Regions from separate parts of the Homo sapiens genome. Here all the other regions are linked to region 2. The links are contacts of gene promoters, found by promoter capture Hi-C in blood cells and fetal thymus (Javierre and others, 2016). All regions are on one chromosome and are shown on one strand. Each heading gives the region's core, a stretch centred on a gene start or on the middle of the fragment in contact. The rest is flanking DNA. Distances are from core to core; before and after follow the strand shown.

Region 1 (2,700 bases), core at 56-2,555, 580 kb before region 2:
CCCACCTCTGTTCTGATGGATACTGGTTTTCAGGCATCATCTTTGGCATCTGCAGGGGCTGATGTGGTGGTCGGGGGACCGCAAATGTTTGCTGCTGTGGTCCAGGCTCTGGAAGCGAATGGGGGGCGGGGGCGGGGCCCACACCTTGAACTGGGCCAGCTGCAGGGGCATGCCCTGAGGTGGGCAGAGTTGCCTGAGGTGGGGGAAATAGGGGATTCTGATGGGTGGGTGAGAGGGGGGTTGTAGGAGGGGTTAATGGCTTGAACCCAGAGGGAGGCTTCCTATCATAGGCACTGTAAACAGAAAAAGAGAAGGAACCATTAAGCTGAAATGAAGCCATTAGCATGGTTACCAGGTCCAGCAGAAAGCTAGTTTGCAGCCCATTGTTGCCAGGAAATAACAGCATTAACATAGTTAAATCGCTCGTAGCCCCGAGGGGATATTTGTACCTCTGAAAAGTGACAAACACACTGCGTCACAGGGACTTGTTTAACACTTCTAGTGATTTTTCTCAAGGATAATTTTAGCCTCTGCTTCCGGTTTCCTTTTTCCCTCCTTCTAAAAGAATTCTCCGTGTATGCCTGTGTAGGGTGGGTGGGTGAGGGGAGAATGTATGTTTGCCAGGTGTTCTCTGGTCCCCTCTCCCAACTATTTCCAGGGTTCCCAGGAATTAGTCAGAATATGTGTTGAAGGTCTGTTTGTGCTGTGACATCATTTGAATTAACAACTCTTCTCCTCCCCCTTTCAGGCAAATCTATGTTTATCTTCTAGAGCAAAGAATGATTTAAAATTAAAGCTTCATTCCTGGGGCCTGGATATTCTTAAGTAAAGGGCACAAGCTTCAAGACTTTTTCATATATTCTGATTTGGAGATTACTTCTCTGGTGCTTAAAGTTCACATTAACATATGATAGACATGAAGAAGTATATATTACCTGCCTCAAAGCCACAGATCAAGTATCCCAGGATTGAGACTCTTTCCCTAGAAGGACTGGGTACCCTATGAACTTAGTGCTCTGTAGAGCCACAAGGTTTTTAATGGTTTTCTTTTGTGTGCAGTACAATGATCCCAAGGGGACTGGACTACACCCGGAGGATGACACTGCCATGAAAGAAGGATATGTTTTACCACAGGGTCTGCTGGGTAAGTAACACTGGGAAGGAACATTCAGCTTGATGGCTACTTCCAGAGCCTTTCTGGGCAGCCTTTCTTCGACTCCTCTTGCCCACTCACCAATAGTTGTAGAGGCACTTTTCTCCATAGTTAGCACCAAGAGCCTGCTCATGGCTACAAGACGACAGCTCAGAGGAGGGGCTGTGCAGCTCCCGTTTGATCTTGGTTGGAGGTGGGGCATGAAGCACCACTGAAATCAGAAGAGGGATGAGAGGGGAATAGAGAGAGAACAGCTGATTAACAGGGAGCACAATGCTTCCTTCTGCAAACCTTCTAACTAGCTGATTGTTCTTGGAACTCATGTCAAGTCACATGTCAGAAAAAGCAAAACGCTTAAACACACAACCTCCCATCCAAAGCCAATTAAATTCTTCAAAGTCAGAAAAAGTATCATCATCTGATACTTTTAATTAGCCAAGTCTTTTTTCCCAAATTTCTTTGGTCATGGGTCTTGCTTTCCAGAAGCTGCAAAATCCTTAAAAACCTTGCAGGTAATGGGTCTCCACCAAAAATGCAAGTGGCTGCAGACATGAAGAATTTTGTTTCCAAAAAGGACAAAACGACCAAAAATGTGTTGGTAGACATTACCAACACATTTAAGCTTATCAAAGGCTTAAAATTGCTGTGGCAAATATATTTCTTATTCAGATGCATATTTACAAATTAAATATAGAATTTTTAAAAAGTCCTTTCTCAAGTAACTTTAAATATCAGCTCTCAGCAAGAAATACTCAACTTTAGAGGCATTCCAAAAATTTTAAAAGCAAAGGAATAAAACAACAGACCAATCCACCACCTAGGAAAGGCTAATGAATACAGAAAGCAGAAAGCCTGGCTACCTTTGTGCTTACAACATCTGCTCCAGGCCTGTCTCAGTGACCGACCAGCAAGGGTAGGTTTGCGTAACCAGTCCTTTCATAGATGGTGCAGTGAATTTTGCTGAATTCATGGAATAAATACATGGAGCTACTGCTTTTGGCTTGGAAGCCAACTACATATACCACATAGGATTCTGAGAGGGCAGAGTAACAAGAATTTTTCAAATCAAGGTGATTTACATGTAGTGGCCAAAATAAACCCAAAGAACAAAAAACCGAGTTTGCCTTTTCTGTCTTCTCTAGGAGCTAAATTGTTGCAGAGACAGCATTTTATCCAAAGTGGAAAGATGCATTTTGCGCTATAAGGGCTGCCTTCTAGTTGAGTTAGAATGGTTACTCCTTGTCTAGCTACCTTGGAAGGTGGGGAAGGAGAGCAAGTTAAGCTTCTATGCTGGCCACTGGCCACTGTATCAAAGGTCTCATTAAATAGCTAACTACAGTCAGTGGTCTGGTGACCCAGTAACATTTTCATTTTGACTCAATGTTTACTCCTAAAACATCTTTAGGAGTTACTTCTTAGTAATTATACGAGGTAGAACTAGCTAAACAAATCATCACTTTTCTCTTTTTTTTTTTTTTTTTGAGACGGAGTCTTACTCTGTCGCCCAGGCTGGCGTGCAATGGCGTGATCACTGCAACCTCTGCCTC
Region 2 (2,700 bases), core at 26-2,525:
GGCTGATTCCCTCTGGTCCCTTCTGATGCTGCTGGCTCTGCTGGTCTGAGGGTTGCATATAGGTATACGGGTTTCTTCTGAAGTGTGAAGGTAGGGGGTCAGCTGTATCATAGCCCAGTCCCCCCCTGCTGATCCCTTCTAACAGTGGGATGGGCATCCAACTATTTGACTCTTACTCTCACCACCATCCTCTTCCACGTGAATCAATTCTTTTTGCAGGGAATTGGGGTGGCATGAGGTGTCCCCAACTTCTTTGCAGGCACACTAATAATAAATAGCATCACTTATTCAGCATCTACTCTATGCCAAGAATTATACTGGTTGCTTTCTTTTTTTCTTTCTTTCTTTTTTAGATGGAATCTCACACTGTCGCCCGAGCTGGAGTGCAGTGGCGCGATCTCAGCTCACTGCAATCTCCGCCTCCCGGGTTCAAGTGATTCTCCTGCCTCAGCCTCCCAAGTAGCGGCGATTACAGGCATGTGCCACCATGCCCAGCTAATTTTTTGTATTTTTAGTAGAGACAGGGTTTCACCATGTTGGCCAGGCTGGTCTCAATCTCCTGACCTTGTGATCAGCCTGCCTTGGCCTCCCAAAGTGCTGGGATTACAGGCATGAGCCACCGCACCCAGCCTGATTTCTTATTTAATTATCACACAAGCCTGCCAAGAGGTATCAATCCATATTTCGTAAATGAGGGAACTATCAGAGAAGTTTTGTTGCTTACCCAGCATTACACAGTAAGAAAGTAATAGAGCCAGGTGAGAAATTCAGATTTGACTTCAAAACGACAGCCTCTTCATTGTTCTATTTTACCTGAAGTCATTCCTTTTATAATGGTACCTGTTTAACATGTTCCCCCGCTTAGATAATGCAGCTGCCTTCTACTGAGGAGTTTTAGTGCCATGATCCATCAGTCCACTGACTGATGATGGAGATTTCCAGCTGAGACAGGCAGGCAGATGGAGGAAAATTACCCCTAGCCCCACCCCCTACACCAACATAGGCACTGCTTATATTCAAAGACGTACTTTAGATCTGCTATCTACTAGAAAAATCCAGATTTGTGCAGATCACAGTTCCACCCACTCATCAGCATTTCTCAGCTTTCTGCCCCCAGGACCCACTAATCATTTACAGCTTGTTGATGGTTATTTGAACCCAGGGTCAAGGTGAACACCCTCAGTTACACAACAAAAATGTATCAAGGTTTTGTTTAATCAATTGCGTGTGTTTCAGAAAGTCTGTATAAAATTCTCTGCAGTGGCAGATCATAGCAAGGGATGGTTTAACAAAATGAAGGCACTCATTGCAGCACTGCTTTTGATCACATTGCAGTATTCGTGTGCCGTGAGTCCCACTGACTGCAGTGCTGTTGAGCCGGAGGCTGAGAAAGCTCTAGACCTGATCAATAAAAGGCGACGGGATGGCTACCTTTTCCAATTGCTGCGGATTGCTGATGCCCACTTGGACAGAGTGGTGAGGAATTGCCAATGGCAGAGCTGAGTTGGGAGATTACTCACGGGGGCAAATGTGACTCTACCCCCTAGGCTTACTGCTTTGCACAATGAATGGCTTTGGTCAGAGTTTTTTGTTTGGCTTCTGCGGCTGCTCTAAATTGTTCTTTTTTCCTTCAAACTAATATTTGTTATTAGTGTACCCGCAACTATGATTCGATTTGTGGGTACATATAAGCATTTATGCTGAGCCCAGTTACATGCTAAGGACTGCCAGAGAAACATTAGAATAAGCTATGGGCCTTGGCCTCCAGGAAATAATAATACACTGGCACATACAGGCAAACAGTGTAAGTTACTAGGATAAACTAGAGAGAAGGAAAAGTTTTCTCAACCCTCCTAAGGCTCCTAACTGAGCCTGAAATAAAACTGGTAGACAAGGCCAGGCGCGGTGGCTCACGCCTGTAATCCCAGCACTTTGGGAGGCCAAGGCGGACGGATCATGAGGTCAGGAGTTCAAGACCAGCCTGGCCAACATGGTGAAACCCTGTCTCTACTAAAAATACAAAAACTAGCTGGGCATGGTGGTGCACGCCTGTAATCCCAGCTACTCAGGGGGTTGAGGCAGAAGAATCGCTTGAACTCGGGAGGCAGAGGTTGCAGTGAGTCGAGATCATGCCACTGCACTCCAGCCTGGGCAACAAAGCTAGACTCCATCTCAAAAAAAAAAAAGAAGAAGAAGAAAACATACAAATTTATTTAATCCAAGGTTTACCTGACACTGGAGTCTTCATAAATGAAGACTCAGATATCCAAAGAAACTGGCCACTTGCATACTTAGAATTCACAAAGGCTGTGCAGAATGCAGAAGTGTGATGGGACAAAAGGCTGTAATCTAAGAGTCATAGACTGAAAGAAGGACCCAGCAAGGCCTCTCTGTTTGAGTTCTTCATGGCCTCTCTGTGTGGCATTTCTTGCTCCCAAGTATGGGACAGGATCCCTTTGGAATGCGGATCTGAGGACCTACTATCAAACAGAGTAGGTCAGAGAATGTCTTTATGGCCAGCTCCTACAAAGAAAGACACAGGGGGAAGGTTAGATTCATATTTTAGGATTTATGGATGCTTTCGGGGAGAGGGATTCTACCATCTGTGACTGTCCTGGAGAAGAGAAATTTTAGTTTCTATGGCTTGCCTTGGGGGAGAAAGCAGAGTAGGAGAACAAAGGGCAGAAGGTCAGACAGATC
Region 3 (2,700 bases), core at 33-2,532, 530 kb after region 2:
TATCTGGCTATGTTTTGGGATTGGACTTGCTGGATTAGTTTACTCTTTGGCTACTTTGCCTTTTTGATCCTTAGTTTGCTTTTTTTTTTTTTTTTTTTTGCAAAATAATGTCAACCTCTACCTACATCATAGAATTGGACATCGTGTTCTCAAGGCACTAAGCTCTTTGAAGGATGAAGAAAAATAATCAGGTACTGTGGTAGAAAGTCTCCAAAGATGGCTGCCACCAATTCCTTCCCTTCCTATAGGCACAGGCAATTTCCCCATCAAGAGTTGAAGTTTATTTCCCATTCCCCTATATCGGGCTGGCCCTGTGATTGCTTTCATCAACAGAATATGACAGGAGTGATGTTATGGGACTTCTGACTCTAGCCTTAAGGAGGACTGGAAGCTTCCATTTATTCTTCCTAGAATGAATCTTCTTGGAAACAAACTACCATGTAGTGAAGAAGCCTGAGCAGCTAAAAGGAAAGACCCAAGTGGAGAAATACCATAATGGTGAATAAGGCATTATGAAAGTTCACAAATGGCAGAGGCATTGTGGAGAGGAAGGGAAGTCCATATTCACGGTAATTGTTTCTTCCAGTGAAAACAAAGGTCTATCCCTTCCTTGATGGAAATGGTCCAGTGTAATCAACTTGCCACCAGGTCGTTGGTTGTTTCCCATGGAATCATGGCCCAATCAATTGTTCAGTGTTGGTCTCTCTCTGTTTTTGGAATTTGGGCATTGTATTAGTCCATTCTTGCACTGCTAAAAAGAAATACCTGAGACTGGGTAATTTATTAATATAAAGAAAAGAGGTTTAATTGGCTCAGGGTTCCATAGGCTGTACAGGTAGCATAGCTGAGGAGGCCTTAGGAAACTTACAATCATGACGGAAGGTGAAGGAAAGCAGGCTTGTCTTACGTGGCTGAAGCAGGAGGAAGAGAGAGCGAAGGGGGAGGTGCTACACTCATTTAAACAACCAGATCTCATGAGAACTCACTCACTATCACCAGAAGAGCAAGGGGGAAATCCACCACTATAATCCAATCACCTCCCACCAGGACCCTCTTCCAACATTGGGGATTACAATTCAACATGAGATTTGGGTGGGGACACAAATCCAAACCATATCAGGCACTTAGCAGTGGATTTAGAGAATTCCTTATATACCATTGTGATATTCCATATAGCATTGCTTCTGACTGGCAACTCATTTCAAAGTAAAGGAAATCTGGCAATGAGCTCACACTCATGAAATTCATTAGTCTTAACTATATCACCCATAATCCTGAAGTAGTTGGCCTGATTGAACAATGTGGTGGTCTTTGGAAGACTCAGTTATAGAATCAGCTGGGGGACAGGACCTTGCAGGGCTAGGATAATGTTCTCCAGGATGTGGTACATGCTCAGAATTAGCAACCATGATGATATAGTGCTTAGTTCCAAGAATTAAAGGGTAGAATGGACTGGCTTTCTCAAAATTAGCCCTAATGGTAAACTAGTTTTTTTTCCCTTTTCTTTCTGTACCCATAACTTTGATCTCTGCTATTTTAGAAATCTTAGTACCCAAGGAAAAAAAATGTTGCCATTAGAGAAGAAAATTAAAAATTCCTTTAAAGTTGAGACTACTACATGGGCTCTTAATATCATTAAATCAACAGATGGAGGGGCTTACTGTTCTGGTCCAGCAATGTTGGGGCATTCTGGAAGGAAAGAGTCTTTGTTTTGGGACTGTGAGGCACATTTAGATCTTTGGTACAGGGTACCAGTAGAAACTTCCAGTCATGGGTCCAGCCCTAAAACACACCCCTCCTTCTTCTCAAATGCCATTTAGGGATAGAAAATTGTGCATAGTTGAGAATTTTTCATGAGTGCATCATTTCAAGAAAAAAAATTAGAGGCTTGTTTTTTCTTTTCATTGCTCTATTTTCTAGTTGGGAACTTAATTTAAAGCATTTTATCCACTTAAAACATGATCACAAACTTTAAGAAATTGACCAGGGTGAGGCCAACAGCTTTAGAGATGTCTGAATTGGCCTTCTCTAAATTGTAGATTCCATGGTGTTAGAGGTCATTTGATAGAGAGCAAGTTGCAATACCACAGTATTTTTTTCTGTCTTGATAGAAATTTTTATTAGAGAAAATACTCTGCTATCCAGAAGGATGCATTATATTGGCCTCTGCACAGCAAGCTTGGGTTCTAAATAAAACTTAATTTGTGCCAATGGGGATTGCATCAGCTGGTTACACACACACACACACTCACACACACACACACACACACCCCTCTGGTGATTCTTACTTTCTGTCTTCTGTCATCATAGTGTTTATTGTAGCAACACCTGCAAAATACTTCTAGAGGATTTGTTCTGGGTAGCACTGTTTGTTATAAGCTCCTCTCAGCTTCACGTATTTTCTGGGAAGGTCCACAGCCCCCATTCTCATTTTGGCCAGTAACTCCCACCTGAGGCAGTTCCCATCATATCTGTGAGGTTTGTTAAACGAGTTTACTTATTTAGGTGTTGGTTGCCTTAATTCAGAGGTAAGAATACTGACTTGAAGGACTGAAAGTTTAATGAAGGGTCCTGAAGAACTTAAGAGTTTTTCCCAATGCCGGCCAGGTGAGATGGCGCATGCCTGTGATCTTAGCACTTTGGGAGGTGGAGGCAGGAGGTTTGCTTGAGCCCAGGAGTTTGGGACCAGCCTGGGCAACA
Region 4 (2,700 bases), core at 36-2,535, 670 kb before region 2:
TTCTCTCTTCTTCTATTCTGTTAATAAATGAATGACACCTGTATTCTTGGAGCTTCTGATTTAATTCAGCATCAACACTGAAATATTTGTTTACCAAAGAAAAATACTTTCCATGCTCCTCTGACTGTGTCATCCACATGAGCCACCACCAGCAGCCCAAAGCCAGTTCCGAAGCAGCAGAACATTTTTCGAGCAAAACAGCACTCTGTGACCCTCGGAGTGCTTGTTCAGCTGAAATTACTTGTGTCTGGCACAGACCTTCTCTTTTGATTTTGGCAGGATTTCAGGGAGTGAAAAAGCTAGGTTAGTGTTAGGGCTGGGATTAGAATTTGGTACTCAACAGATCATACTGTTAACACTTCTCCTCTTTGCTAACTTTATGAAGTTCAAGAAAAGCTTTCTGGGGAATGGCACCAATTTATTTGCCAAAAGCTGAGATGGGCCAAGGAAGATGTAGTCAGCATTTGGAATCTCCTTGCCTTAGGGTTTAACAGCCAAGGAGGGAAGAAGGATGTGCTGGGGAGCGGGGGAATAGGGGCCATGTGGGTAGTGCTGGAAGGATTCGGGATGCCGAACAGGCTTGGCTCCTTGCGGTTCCACCCCCACAACATCTCTCAAGCCATGCGCCGTCCTCTCCTCTAGCACAGCACTCTGTCCTAATCCTTATCATTCTCACCAACTATAGCAATACTCTCTGATACGCCTTCTTGCCCCTCTTGTCTGTCCTGAGCACTGCTGCCAGTTTTTATTCTTATGCTTAGAAGCATTCAAGCCTCCCCAGTGCTTGTCAAATAAGAGCCTCATCTTTAACACAATGCTCAAGGCTCCCCACAAGCAGGTCCCAAGCTCCACTTCTGCCCCCGTTTCTTCCTTCACCTTCCACGAAGACTCTGGCACCTACGAGCTAGACATGTGCCATCCCCCAGACGTGCCATGTCCATGCCAGCCTGTGAGCCTTTGCACGGACTGGTCCCTCAGCCTAGATTGTCCTCCCCTAGTTCCCATCTTTGCCTAGTAGATTCCTCCTCATCCTCGAGGACCCAGGTCAAATATCGCTTCTTCTGTGAGGCTTCTCTTAACTCTTCAAAGCAAAGCTGATGCCTCAAGCTCATCCATGGGACTTGTGTACTGCACTCTTTTGTGTCTGCCACGAGGGGACCTTGGGGACAGAACAATGCCTTATTTATAATTATGTGTCTTCTACACCACATCGAGTGCCTTGTTCAGTGTCTGTTACTTTATTTGAATTTTTGAAAGCAGATGGGACAATCTCCCTTGATACCAGGGAGAAACCACAGCAGTAAACTCAGTCTTTGGCTGTGTTAGGCTGACTGGTTCTGCTTTCTTTATTTTTATTTTTTATTTTTTTTTGAGACAGGGTCTCTCTCTGTTGCCCAGGCTGGAGTACATTGGTGCAATCTCAGCTTACTGCAACCTCCACCTCCCAGGCTCAAGCGATCCTCCCACCTCAGCCTCTGGAGTAGCTGGGACCGCAGGCGCACACCACCACACTTGGCTGGCTAATTTTATTTACTTTTAGTAAAGAAGGGGTTTCACCATGTTGCCCAGGCTCGCTTTCTTTTCTTTTCTTTTTCTTTTCTTTTTTTTTTTGAGAGAAAGTATGGCTCTGTCGCCTAGGCTGGAGTGCAGTGGCGCAATCTCGGCTCACTGTAACCTCCGCCTCCCTGGTTCAAGCAATTCTTCTGCCTCAGCCTCCTGAGTAGCTGGGATTACAGGCGCGCACCACCATACCTGGCTAATTTTTGTATTTTTAGTAGAGACGGGGTTTCACCATATTGGTCAGGCTGGTCTCGAACTCCTGACCTCAGGTGATCCACCCGCCTCGGCCTCCCAAAATGCTGGGATTACAAGCGTGAGCCACCATGCTCGGCCTCAGGCTTGCTTTCTTTAATCTCCAGAATAATGCAGTGCACTGGGTAATGGGTACTGGGTAAACATCTCCTTGTTGGCCACAGGTAACTGCTCCCTGCAAATGTCATCTCTGAGGAGATGTCCCAAGTGGCAAGGATTTTTGGCTCAATTAAGCTCCCAAGAGTTATCCCCATTATGTTAAGTTCTGGAGAGATATGCATAATTGTGACTCTGTCCCTGCCATGGAGGTCCTTACGGCTTAGTGAGGAAGATACACACACACACAGACACACACAAGGCATGAAGCTTGATGGGGTTCTCAGCTAAGCCTGGGAGCAACAGGGTAGGTTTCTTGGAGGAGGTGAAAACTGAACTGAATATTAAAGTTGTACAGGAGTTACGATGGACAAAGGCAGTGAGTATAACCAATATAGCCTCAAGCTACCATTAGCATTCAGAACTGAAAGATTATGGTGGTATAGGGAAGGGGATCAGTTGAAGAAAGATAGAGATATTGATAGAGAAGATGATATATGAGCTGGGCTTTGAAAGATGAGAGGGTTTTGGATAAATAGAGATAGGAATAGGATACAGGTTGAAAGACAATCTGGGCAAAGGAACAGTGTAAACAAAGGCATAGAGGAGGGATGTAGCTTGCTTTAAATGATCAGCTCCAAAAAGGTTATCACTGGAATATTATTTGAGAGATGAATCATGATGAGAGATGGGGCTGGAGAGAGGAAGGGTCTAGGTTATGAAGGGTCTAAATGTCTCCAGAGTAACTTAGGGTGATGTGATTAGCATACTTTTTAGCTAGATTCTGATGAT

The links. The method cuts DNA at HindIII sites, captures the fragments that hold promoters and counts their contacts. A CHiCAGO score of 5 or more calls a contact.
Region 1: a fragment that was not itself captured here is called in contact with the fragment with the promoter of HRG in region 2 in 1 of 17 cell types (activated CD4 T cells); the score reaches 5.0 in activated CD4 T cells.
Region 3: a contact is called between a fragment that was not itself captured here and the fragment with the promoter of HRG in region 2, in 6 of 17 cell types (total CD4 T cells, activated CD4 T cells, naive CD8 T cells and 3 more). The highest score is 6.5, in total CD4 T cells.
Region 4: a fragment that was not itself captured here is called in contact with the fragment with the promoter of HRG in region 2 in 1 of 17 cell types (activated CD4 T cells); the score reaches 6.9 in activated CD4 T cells.

Annotation. Positions count from the first base shown.
Region 1 is chr3:186,079,812-186,082,511 of GRCh38, forward strand. ETV5 (ETS variant transcription factor 5) reads right to left here. Exons shown (of 13, transcript NM_004454.3): 6 at 1,235-1,364; 7 at 6-293. ETV5-AS1 (ETV5 antisense RNA 1) reads left to right here. Exons shown (of 2, transcript NR_046594.1): 2 at 749-1,136. Among named protein-coding and RNA genes, the nearest start is that of ETV5-AS1, 2.0 kb to the left of the region's middle. The HindIII fragment of the contact is 936 bases long and covers 838-1,773 here.
Region 2 is chr3:186,664,739-186,667,438 of GRCh38, forward strand. HRG (histidine rich glycoprotein) reads left to right here and starts at 1,276. Exons shown (of 7, transcript NM_000412.5): 1 at 1,276-1,476. The coding sequence starts at 1,294. HRG-AS1 (HRG and FETUB antisense RNA 1) reads right to left here and starts at 896. Exons shown (of 3, transcript NR_187317.1): 1 at 841-896. The HindIII fragment of the contact is 4,199 bases long and covers 1-2,700 here.
Region 3 is chr3:187,191,579-187,194,278 of GRCh38, forward strand. No RefSeq gene overlaps it. Among named protein-coding and RNA genes, the nearest start is that of RTP1, 4.6 kb to the right of the region's middle. The HindIII fragment of the contact is 1,787 bases long and covers 390-2,176 here.
Region 4 is chr3:185,992,725-185,995,424 of GRCh38, forward strand. No RefSeq gene overlaps it. Among named protein-coding and RNA genes, the nearest start is that of TRA2B, 56 kb to the left of the region's middle. The HindIII fragment of the contact is 1,782 bases long and covers 395-2,176 here.